Linked DNA regions of Homo sapiens: regions 2, 3 and 4 are each linked to region 1. Evidence: promoter capture Hi-C in 16 types of primary human blood cells and fetal thymus (Javierre and others, 2016). All regions are on one chromosome and are shown on one strand. Each heading gives the region's core, a stretch centred on a gene start or on the middle of the fragment in contact. The rest is flanking DNA. Distances are from core to core; before and after follow the strand shown.

Region 1 (2,591 bases), core at 38-2,537:
CCCAGGAACTGAGGCAGTACAAGACAGCTTCCACTCCCTGTGATTTCATCTCTGACCCAACCAATCAGCACTTCCGACTTACTGGCTGTCTCCCCACGCACCAAATTGTCCTTAAAAACTCTGATCCCCGAATGCTATGGGATACTGATTTGAGTAATAATAAAACTCTGGTCTCCTGCACAGCCAGCTCTGCGTGAATTACTCTTTATTGTAATTCCCCAGTGTTGATCAATCGGCTCTGTCCAGGCAGCGGGCAAAGTGAACCCTTTGGGAGCTTACAGCAAGTGACCCAATCACAGCTCACTGCAGCATCAAACTCAAGTGGTCCTCCCGCCTCAGCCTCCCAAATAGCCAGAATTACAGGCGCAAGCCACAGAGGTCAGCAAGGGGAAATTTTTAGGAGCACAGACATTGGGCACAGAAAACGACTACGTACCTTCAGAATGAGGCAGGAAAGTCTTAAAAGTCAAAGTCTTAGAAATGTCTTACAGCCTTAAAAATCAATTAAGTCTTAGACCTGGGGGGGTCAAATCTCAAATACGACAGCAGCCAGAAATTTATTACATCAGAGGTTGGGAATCACTTGGGAAACTTCAAAGGCAGATCAATGGCCAGTTCCCAGCCCCAAACTCTTTAGAATTTCTAGGAGTAGGTCTCCAGCGTGAGTATGGTTTTACCTCTCCTAAAGTGATTCTAATGTGCAGCCAGGGTTGAGAACCACTGCCATTCTAAACCAATGAGGGCAAGATGGCCAAACAGAAGTGTCATTTCCTATTTAGTCTCCTTGATTGTTGCAATGGAATTCCTCAGCTTCAAAAGTCCAGAATTTCATGTGAGATTTCCAAATTCTAAAATGTTGGCAAGTAATTAAAAGAAATTTTTTTAAAAAAGATTGGGATCAAAGAAAACATGGATTCGGGCCCTACTGAGTGTCACTTCGTAACCTTTTTGCAGTTCAACCTCAGGTTTGAACAACCTGATTCTGAGAAGTTAAATAATTTGTCCACGGTTACACAGCCAGTAGGAATAAGAGTTAGGACTAAAACCCAGTCCCTCTGAATTTAATTAATGTTCCTTCCATGAGAAGGAAGGAACACCTGAAGATGCGTTTTAAAAATGGGTAACAGAAACGCGAAGTTACCGCCAGCCATGATCGCAACCACGCATGCGCCTACTACTGCCGGCGAGGCGGAAGAGCAGGGAAGGTTAAAGGCGATGAATTACGACCTCTGCTGGCGACGCTCACGACTCCTGCCGTAAAGGCCGTGTGTGGCGCCTGCGCACCTCCTTTCCCTTTCGGATTCCCGACGCTGTGGTTGCTGTAAGGGGTCCTCCCTGCGCCACACGGCCGTCGCCATGGTGAAGCTGAGCAAAGAGGCCAAGCAGAGACTACAGCAGCTCTTCAAGGGGAGCCAGTTTGCCATTCGCTGGGGCTTTATCCCTCTTGTGATTTACCTGGGTCAGTGGGAGAAGAACCGGGAAAGTGACTGGAGGGAAGAGGGTGGCGGAGACAGCAGCCCCATTTTTGGCCGTCGGGGGAGGGAGAGAAAAATAGGGGACACTGCCGTGCACGGCCCCTGAGGCTGTCTGGTCAAGTGGGGCCGATCTAACCTGAGTTCGAGTTCCCGTTCTATCGCTTTATAGTTGCATGGTCTTTAAGCAGTCTTGCAATCCCTCCTTTTCTATTTTTGCATCCTTAAAGTGGAGGTCATATTTCTCGGGATTGTAGGGAGGGTTGGATGACCCCAGTGGATGTGAAAGTCACTAATTCACTCTCTAGCACTAGGTGGTTCTCGGGGTGTTTTTCCTCACCGCTCCATGTGGTCCTAAGTGGAAAGAGTCCTGTTCAGGGAATCGAGACACCTCGTGAAAGTACCACTGCCATGAAAGCATGATTATAATAATAGTCGTTGGATGCCTCTGCTTTCTTACCTGTACGATGAAGGGTTTGGATGATTTCTATTACTGCCCCCATTTTACAGGTGAGGAAACAGCCGTAGAGAAACTTTTTTGCCAAGGTCGCACAGCTATGCTGACTGAGGGAGTTAGGGGCTCAGGCAGTGGGGCATCAGAGCCCATAGTCTTAACCATTATAGCGCACTTAAAGGATTTGGGGTTTTTTTGGTTTTTGTTTTTAAGACAGAGTCTCGCTCTGTCACCCAGACTGGAGTGCAGTGGCGCTATCCCGGCTCATTGCAACCTTCCCCTCCTGTGCTCTAGCGATCCTTCCACCTCAGTCTCCCAAGTAGCTGGGACTACAGGCTGGTGCCAACAGGCTCGGTCACTTACTGCAAGGATTTGTTAATATTTTTCAGTTAGGGTTGCAGACTGGGACCTATTCTGTAGTTTTTTCTTTTCTTTTCTGTCTTTTTTTTTCCTTTTTTCCTTTTTGAGACAGTCGCTGTGTGCCCAGGCTGGAGTGTAGTGGCGCGATCTCTGCCCACCGCAATCTCTGCCTCTCGGGATCAAGCGATCCTTCCCCCTTAGCCTCCCGAGTAGCTGTGATTACAGACTTGCAGCCACCGCTCGCGGCTAATGTTTATATTTTTAGTAGAGACGGGGTTTTGCTTATGTGGGCCAGGCTGGCCTCA
Region 2 (2,591 bases), core at 53-2,552, 250 kb before region 1:
AGACAGAAGTCTCCCTTTATACCTTCAGGCCAGACCATCATATTAGAGTGGCAGGACTATTGGTTAGGTACAGGCAGACATAGAAAACATGAGATAATTTATCATTTTGTAGAGAGAAACCATGCATTGGAAAATTCAAATCTATAGGAAAGGCAATTGATTAGAAGCAAAAGTGAATTTTAGTTGTAATAGAGGTTTAATTTAAGTTCTAGTAATTTAAAGATGAATTATTTTGGGCTGTGTGATCAGATTCCAAATCCAATGGAGAAACAATCATTCAACCACCCAAATCCTGCAGTTTTGGTGATCAGTATAATATTGCATGAGTGCTTTGTCTCTAGTTTAAGTTGTTTAAAACATTTACAAGAACCTGATATATTAAATTTGTGATTTTAAGTAATTATTTAGCATATAATTAAAGAAGTTTATAATCAGTGTTTGAATAGCTGGGAAATTTTTTTTTTTTTTTTGAGACGGAGCTTCACTCTGTCGCCCAGGCTGGAGTGCAGTGGCGCTATCTCGGCTCACTGCAAGCTCCGCCTCCCGGGTTCACATCATCCTCCTGCCTCAGCCTCCTGAGTAGCTGGGTCTACAGGTACCCACCACCACGCCTGGCTAATGTTTTGTTTTGTTTTTTTTTTTGTATTTTTAGTAGAGATGGGGTTTCACCGTGTTAGCCAGGATAGTCTCGATCTCCTGACCTCGTGATCCACCCGCCTTGGCCTCCCAAAGTGCTGGGATTACAGGCGTGAGCCACCGCGCCTGGCCATAGCTGGGAAATTTTAAGTTGTTAGATCTGTTATTTGGTTTATCAGTTGTATGAATAGTATATGAATGTTTACAGTAACCATTTAATATTTAAAGAAATATTAACTGCTTAATGTATCAGTCAGGTTTTTGCTGCAATATTGACATATGAAAAACTCCCAAATTACTTATTTTATATTCCTGACCTGCAGGTGGGCTGGGGAGGTTCTCCTTCAGTCTGTGAGTTTAGTATGTTTTACGTGTTTCTATTCTGGGACCAATGGTTACCTAGGGTTATTCTCATGGCAGATGGCAGAAGAGTAAGGGAGGAGAATGGAAATGTGATGGCTAAAAATGGACATGTTCTCTTTTCCACCCACATTCCATTGTCTAAAGCAAGAGATGTGGCCAAGCCCAACATCAAAGGAGTAGAATGACTGGGCATGGTGGCTCCTGCCTGTAATCCCAGCACTTTGGAAGGCCAAGGTGGGAGGATTGCTTGAGCCCAGGAGTTTGAGATCAGCCTGGGCAATGTAGGAAGACTCCATATCTAAAATAAATAAATAAATACATAAATAATCAGCCAGGCACGATGGCATACGTGTGTACTCCCACTTACTTGGGAGGCTGAGGTGGGAGGATCACTTGAGCTTGGGAGGCTGAGGCTGCAGTGAACTATAATTGAGCCACGCACTCCGGCCTGGGTGACAGAGCAAGACCTTGTCTCAAAAACAAAAACAAAATAATCCAAAGGAGTAGAAGGCTTTACCTACAGTGAACCATGCAAAGGTGGGGAGGGAAAGAATTGTGAGTAAATAATGTAATCTTCCACTCTTAATAAATCTATGAGATTAAAATGTTAGATATATAAGTGCAAATAGTCACGATCATTCTTCATGCACAAAAGCCTCACATAAATGACTTTATAGCAAAGTTCTGAGTCATGAAAGAATCTTTTGTTTTTGGGGTCAAATGCAATATAATGTGAACTTATTATTTATTTGAGTGTTTTTGTAGCAGGGTTGCAAAATTACTTGTGATACAGAAATTTAGAAGTGATTTAATTTCTTTATTTTGTTTAGAGCTTATTTAGTCTTGTGACCTGGTAGGTGGTGGGAAAGAAAAACAAAACCAAAAAACACAAATTAATCTGGTTTAAAATGTATTCTGATCCAGTCGTTTAAACCACCCCTTATGTAATTCTCAGGTTCTCAGACTTCTCCCATTTTCACCCCTTCATTGCCTTCCTACCTGGAAGTACGTGGGGGAGGGGTATAGTTTATTGTATTCTTACGATATAGGGCGGGAAGAGGGGTCTCTATGGCCTTAATCTTGGTTCTTGAGTGTGCATTGATTAGTGCCTATTGAAGTTCACCCAAGTTTTGGCGTTAGACTTCAGTGGCTGCTAAAGTTGTCTATTTTTTCCTGGTTTAGTCAAGCCCTAGTCACCCTTCCTTGTTGGCTTGGCCTACCTTCAGCTCTCTCTGGCTAGAGACCTTTCTGAATCTCTCCCTTATCCAGCCCCCAGTCAGGCTATTCATCCTGAAGACTTTTGCTGTGGGATCATCTATCCCAGTGCCACAGCAGGCCCCATGGCAGGCTTGTGGCTTTCAACTCCGTGTCCATGTTACATAGGTACCAATGTAGGCTTTGGAGTGCACATTAGGATCTCTCTCTCTCTCTTTCTCTCCCCCAAGGACCTTAGCGCTCCATTCTCCTAATCATGCCAGGAAATCTCGAGGTGAAGACACTTGGCAGAACTGACCTGGAATCTCAAATAGGCAAAATGACCACCTTGGAGCACAAGTTTCTCACCATCCACCTTTCCCTTCCCCTGTTTCCTG
Region 3 (2,591 bases), core at 34-2,533, 210 kb before region 1:
TTCCCTGTCTTCCTAGAGTTCCCTTCTAGAACACTTATTTAGGACTGGTCCGACTCCAAATTCACACCTTCTCCAAAATTGGTCATTCTCTACCTCACCCTCCAACCAAAACCCCTTTCTCTCAGGATAAGCTAACGTAGTGGAAAGCTTATGTTCTCTGGAGCCCAAAAAGTATGGGGTGGAATCTCTTCTCCACCGCTGTGTGACCTTGATCAAGTTGGTTAACTTCTCTAAGCATCGGTTTACTGACTTGTAAAATAATAAAATTACCCATCCAGGTGCGGTGGCTCACGCCTGTAATCCCAGCATTTTGGGAGGCCGAGGAGGGAGAATCACGAGGTCAAGAGATCGAGACCATCCTGGCTAACCAACATGGTGAAATCCCTTCTCTACTAAAAATACAAAAATTAGCTGGGCATAGTGGCGCACAACTGTAGTCCCAGCTACTTGGGAGGCTGAGGCAGGAGAATTGCTTGAACCCAGAAGGCAGAGGTTGCAGTGAGCCGAGATCGCTCCACTGCACCCCAGCCCGGGTGACAGAGAGAGACTCCGTCTCAAAAAAAAAAAAAAAAAAATTACCCATGGGGTTGTTAAAAGGCATAGAAGCATTTATGCATCCTGCAGCTTTTAGCCACCTGCATCCAAGCTCTCTTTTGTATGATGATCACAAAGATGAATCAAAGTTCCAGACCCTGAATGGGGACCCAGTACATAAAAAAACCAGTGGTTGAGCCTCAGGGGTGGCCAAAGAGACAACCAGCTATCAGCCAGCCTTTTCCTCTTTTGTTTTGTTTTCAACAAAAAACAAGATTCATATGCCAATTGCCCACAACCACTTCCCAAAATCACCAAAGCAAAGTTGTCAAAACTATGCTCCTTCACTCCACACATTCCTTTCAGGCCATAGGTTGCCCTTTCATAACTGGGTATCCCTTTTCAGATCCCTTGAGATATTTGTTGAGACCTGATTTGGAGACAGGGGTACAGCAGATAAGAGAGTGGGAGCACACTGTAAAGTTTGCTTCATTTTTCAACCATTAGAAAAGGCTCTGCTTAGGCCGGGCGCGGTGGCTTACGCCTGTAATTCCAGCACTTTGGGAGGCCGAGGCGGGTGGATTGCCTGAGGTCGGGAGGGAGTTCTAGACCAGCCTGACCAACATGGAGAAACCTCGTCTCTACTAAAAAAAATACAAGGCTGGGCGCGGTGGCTCATGCCTGTAATCCCAGTACTTGGGAGGCCGAGGCGGGCGGATCACGAGGTCAGGAGATCGAGACCATCCTGGCTAACACGGTGAAACCCCATCTCTACTAAAAATACAAAAAAAAAAAAAAAAAAAAAATTAGCCGTGTGTGGTGGTGGGCGCCTGTAGTCCCAGCTGCTTGGGAGGCTGATGCAGGAGAATGGTGTGAACCCGGGAGGCAGAGCTTGCAGTGAGCCGAGATTGCGCCACTGCACTCCAGCCTGGGCGACAGAGTGAGACTCTGTCTCAAAAAACAAACAAAAAAATTAGCCCGTTGTGCTGGCGCATGCCTATAATCCCAGCTACTTGGGAGGCTGAGGCAGGAGAATCGCTTGAACCCGGGAGGCGGAGGTTGCAGTGAGCGAGATCACGCCATTGTACTCCAGCCTGGTCAACAAGAAGGAAACTCCATCTTAAAAAAAAAAAAAAAAAGTAGAAAAGGCTCTGCTTAGAATTAGCCACTCTGGGAGTTGGAGGAGAGCCTTCTTCTAAATTTCCACAGTTATTGGTGTTTCATAGCATGGTCATGGGCGAGCGGAAGTAGATCCAGGACTTCCTGGCTGGAGTTGAGTGTTGCATGAATTCAGCAGATTGTTCTGGGGGCCTTTCCATCTCGTTTGATATGTGACTTCTCTTGGCAGCCAGTCAGTGAGACAATGACGTTCTCTAGTGTCTGAGAGACAGATTTAAAACGGTACTTTGGGGAGGGGTGTGGTGGCTCATGCTTGTAATCCCAGCATTCTGGGAGGCCGAGGCAGGTGGATCACTTGAGGTCAGGAGTTTGAGACCAGCCTGGGCAACATGGCAAAACCCCATCTCAACTAAAAAAATAAAAAAATAAGCCAGGTGTGGTAGTACACACCTGTAATCCTAGCTACTTGGGAGACTGAGGCAGGAGAATCACTTGAATTCGGGAGGCAGGGGTTGCAGTGAGCCAAGATCATGCCACTGACTCCAGCCTGGGCAACAGAGAGAGACTCTGTCTCAATAAAATAAAATAAAGTAAAATAAAATGGTGCTTTGGGAAGCCTGGGGTTCCGATAATGATGGAGAAGGAATAGGAGAGCAGAGGGGCTTGAGGCCCTCTTCACTCCACTTCAGATCTGTCGGGTTGGCTTTGTTCGGTGTCATTTGTTATTCTGAAGGAAACTTCATTTGGAAAAAGAACAGAAAGCTTTGCTGCTAAACACACACACATACACACGCACACGTGTGCTTGCGCCAGCAAACCACTATCTTGGATATTCTGCTCAAGGAGAAGTTAAAGAGGAATCATGGGGAGAGGGAGCAGGTGGGCAGCAAACAGTAAGGCCTTATGTGTACTATAATACTGTATTACTAGTAACAGGT
Region 4 (2,591 bases), core at 61-2,560, 170 kb before region 1:
ACGTGCCTGATCTTGTCTGAAGTCATGGAGGATCTGAGAAGAACAGGAAGATAGAAATGGGAAATGAGAAGAAAGAACTTCTTACCTTCTAATTGTTCTAGCTTTTCCAACAGAAACACACTGGGCTGGTTGCCACAGCACACTGATATCCCAACATGATCTTATTTGTCCTTGGGGTAGGCAAAAGATGGTTTAGCCAAAAACCATTTTATAGAGTAAAAACCTATGTTCTATTCTTGATAATCAGACACTTGTTTTGTGATTTTTGGGGAAAATAGGCCTAAGTAATAGGCCTTTGGAAAGACTTCCCAAACCTCTCTTACTATGAATTATATTACTTCTCCTGGTGCCTTGAGAGGCAGCTTTATTTACTTGATGACCTAGGTAGGCAGTGAGGCATCAACACTTCTTTTTAAGCAACAGCACATATACTGTCCTCCTTCACAATTGATTGGTCAGTTTCTAAGCAGCAAAATCCTAAAATTAAATTAATTTTATTCTGTAACATAATCTGAACATTTCTCTCCATTCTGTTTTCCTGAAATTCACCCAGGAATTCTTGATAATCTTCTGGTAGCGCTTAATTTAACTACAGCAATGGCCTCATTGCATAGGAGAGAAGTTTAAAATTTCGTGATGTGTCACAATCCATTTATAGAAATTTGGTTGCTCTATAAATTTATAGAAACTTAAGCTTCATAATGATATATAAAACAAATGGTTATAAAAAGTTTTATAGTAGTTTGTCGTTAGTGCTTAATGGTGAAGGGGATGATGTAAAAGATAGGAATAAGGAAATTTTTAGAGTTTTACAGTGAAAGTTACAAATACTTTTAAAATATTCTTATAAAATAATTAAAATGTTATATGTCTCTGATGACAACACTAAAAGATAAATTTTGGTAATTGTTATTAATAACATAATGTGGGAATTGAAGAATAAGACATTTGACTTAGAAAGGTTTTATTGTACATTGAAAATATAAAAAATTAATGTTATACAGACTTATTGGGCTAGTGAAATACTACATAGACTCCTAGCAAGCCTTCTAATGTAATTTTAAATATTCTGCTCCGGAACATGTTTGGCAAAAATAGGAAGTTAGTTACACAGCAGGAAACATGTATTTTAATTGTCTCTTTTATCTTTGAGAAGAATAAAGTTTTTACAAATGCAAGTATATTTTGAATATTACTAGAGATGTCTAATTAGATTTATAAAGCTTGCAGAGTTATATAGTCAAGTCTTTGGCATAGATGTTAATAGGTTACATATTATATATGAAATGTGGGGGTGGGTTAGCAACTTGTAGAGAGCCTCTTGCTGCTTGCTGGTAGAGAGAAACAGTTTTTAAATCATTTTGTGGCCAGTTTGCTTTTTGTCCTATCTAAGCTTTACTGATACCTTTAGTCAGAACTGTTACTCATCTTGAAGCCCAGGGCTAATGGAAAGAATTTTTTTTTTTTTTTTTTTTTTTTTTTAACAATTGTACTGTACGTGGTAAGGACAAAGAAAAGCTTATGTCAGCTAGTAAACACTGTTGGCTTTTTAATTTTTTATTTCTTTAAATACTTATCCTACAATAGTACTCCAAACCTCACCATCACACAGTATACCCATGTAACAAACCTGCACATGTACCTCCTGAATCTAAAATAAAAGTTGAAATAAAAAAATTATCCTATACTTTATAGAATTCCATTATTCTCTTTCCTACATAATGCATTGATATTTCAGGATTCATTTTTAATGTTTGTATATTTTTGCTTCTTTTTTTTTTTTTTTTGAGACGGAGTCTCACTTTGTCATCCAGGCTGGAGTGCAGTGGTCTGATCCTGGCTCACTGAAACCTCTGCCTCCCGGGTTCAAGTGATTCTTCTATCTCAGCCTCCCAAGTACCTGGGATCACCTGCACATGCCACCATGCCTGGCTAATTTTTGTATTTTTAGTACAGAGGGGTTTCACTGTGTTGGCCAGTCTTTCTCAAACTCCTAACCTCAAGTGATCCTCCTGCCTCAGCCTCCCAAAGTGCTGGGATTACAGGCGTGAGCCACCGCACCCAGCCATACTTTCTCTTCTAAAGATATTCTTACTTTTATAGTTAAAAGGAACTTACCAGGGGCCAGGCACGGTGGCTCATGTCTGTAATCATTTTGAATGGTACTTGATATTCACATGACGTCGTGTTGATGTTAGCTTAGATCAAGGCAGTGCTTGCCCGGTTTCACCACTATACAGTTACTCTTTTCCTCTTTCCGTACTCTCTTTTTTTGCAAGTGAATAGCTATGTCCAGTGCACTCTCAATGGGGGAGCAAGGACTAAGCTCTACCTCCTGGAAGAGATAGTGTCTACATCTGTTACTGGGAATTCTTCCGTAAGGAAACTTTATCTCCTATTCTCTTATTTATTTAATCATTTATTTATATGAGTATGGCCTCATGTATGTTTATTTTATACTTTGGGTTATAATGCAGTACTACATTACTTGTTCTGTTGCTTGGATTGTTCCAGCTTTGGCCATTGGGTGTTCTTTCAGGTTGGCTTAATATTTAAGAGTATAAAGAGTCCCTAACCCAAATGTTTGAAAA

The links. Contacts are between HindIII fragments. The CHiCAGO score rates a contact against its expected background, and 5 or more counts as called.
Region 2: a fragment that was not itself captured here is called in contact with the fragment with the promoter of TOMM7 in region 1 in 14 of 17 cell types (activated CD4 T cells, M0 macrophages, neutrophils and 11 more); the score reaches 8.4 in activated CD4 T cells.
Region 3: a fragment that was not itself captured here is called in contact with the fragment with the promoter of TOMM7 in region 1 in 1 of 17 cell types (megakaryocytes); the score reaches 5.1 in megakaryocytes.
Region 4: a fragment that was not itself captured here is called in contact with the fragment with the promoter of TOMM7 in region 1 in 3 of 17 cell types (total CD8 T cells, total B cells and naive CD8 T cells); the score reaches 6.1 in total CD8 T cells.

What each region holds. Positions count from the first base shown.
Region 1 is chr7:22,821,545-22,824,135 of GRCh38, reverse strand. TOMM7 (translocase of outer mitochondrial membrane 7) reads left to right here and starts at 1,287. Exons shown (of 3, transcript NM_019059.5): 1 at 1,287-1,459. The coding sequence starts at 1,357. LOC112267993 (a long non-coding RNA gene) reads right to left here and starts at 1,179. Exons shown (of 3, transcript XR_002956543.2): 1 at 437-1,179. RefSeq lists enhancers at 1,057-1,266, 1,297-1,376, 1,046-1,806. The HindIII fragment of the contact is 22,456 bases long and covers 1-2,591 here.
Region 2 is chr7:23,067,644-23,070,234 of GRCh38, reverse strand. No RefSeq gene overlaps it. Among named protein-coding and RNA genes, the nearest start is that of KLHL7-DT, 37 kb to the left of the region's middle. The HindIII fragment of the contact is 2,762 bases long and covers 1-2,591 here.
Region 3 is chr7:23,030,632-23,033,222 of GRCh38, reverse strand. No RefSeq gene overlaps it. Among named protein-coding and RNA genes, the nearest start is that of HYCC1, 18 kb to the right of the region's middle. The HindIII fragment of the contact is 2,268 bases long and covers 150-2,417 here.
Region 4 is chr7:22,995,489-22,998,079 of GRCh38, reverse strand. The region is part of intron 1 of HYCC1 (hyccin PI4KA lipid kinase complex subunit 1); the gene reads left to right. Among named protein-coding and RNA genes, the nearest start is that of HYCC1, 17 kb to the left of the region's middle. The HindIII fragment of the contact is 170 bases long and covers 1,226-1,395 here.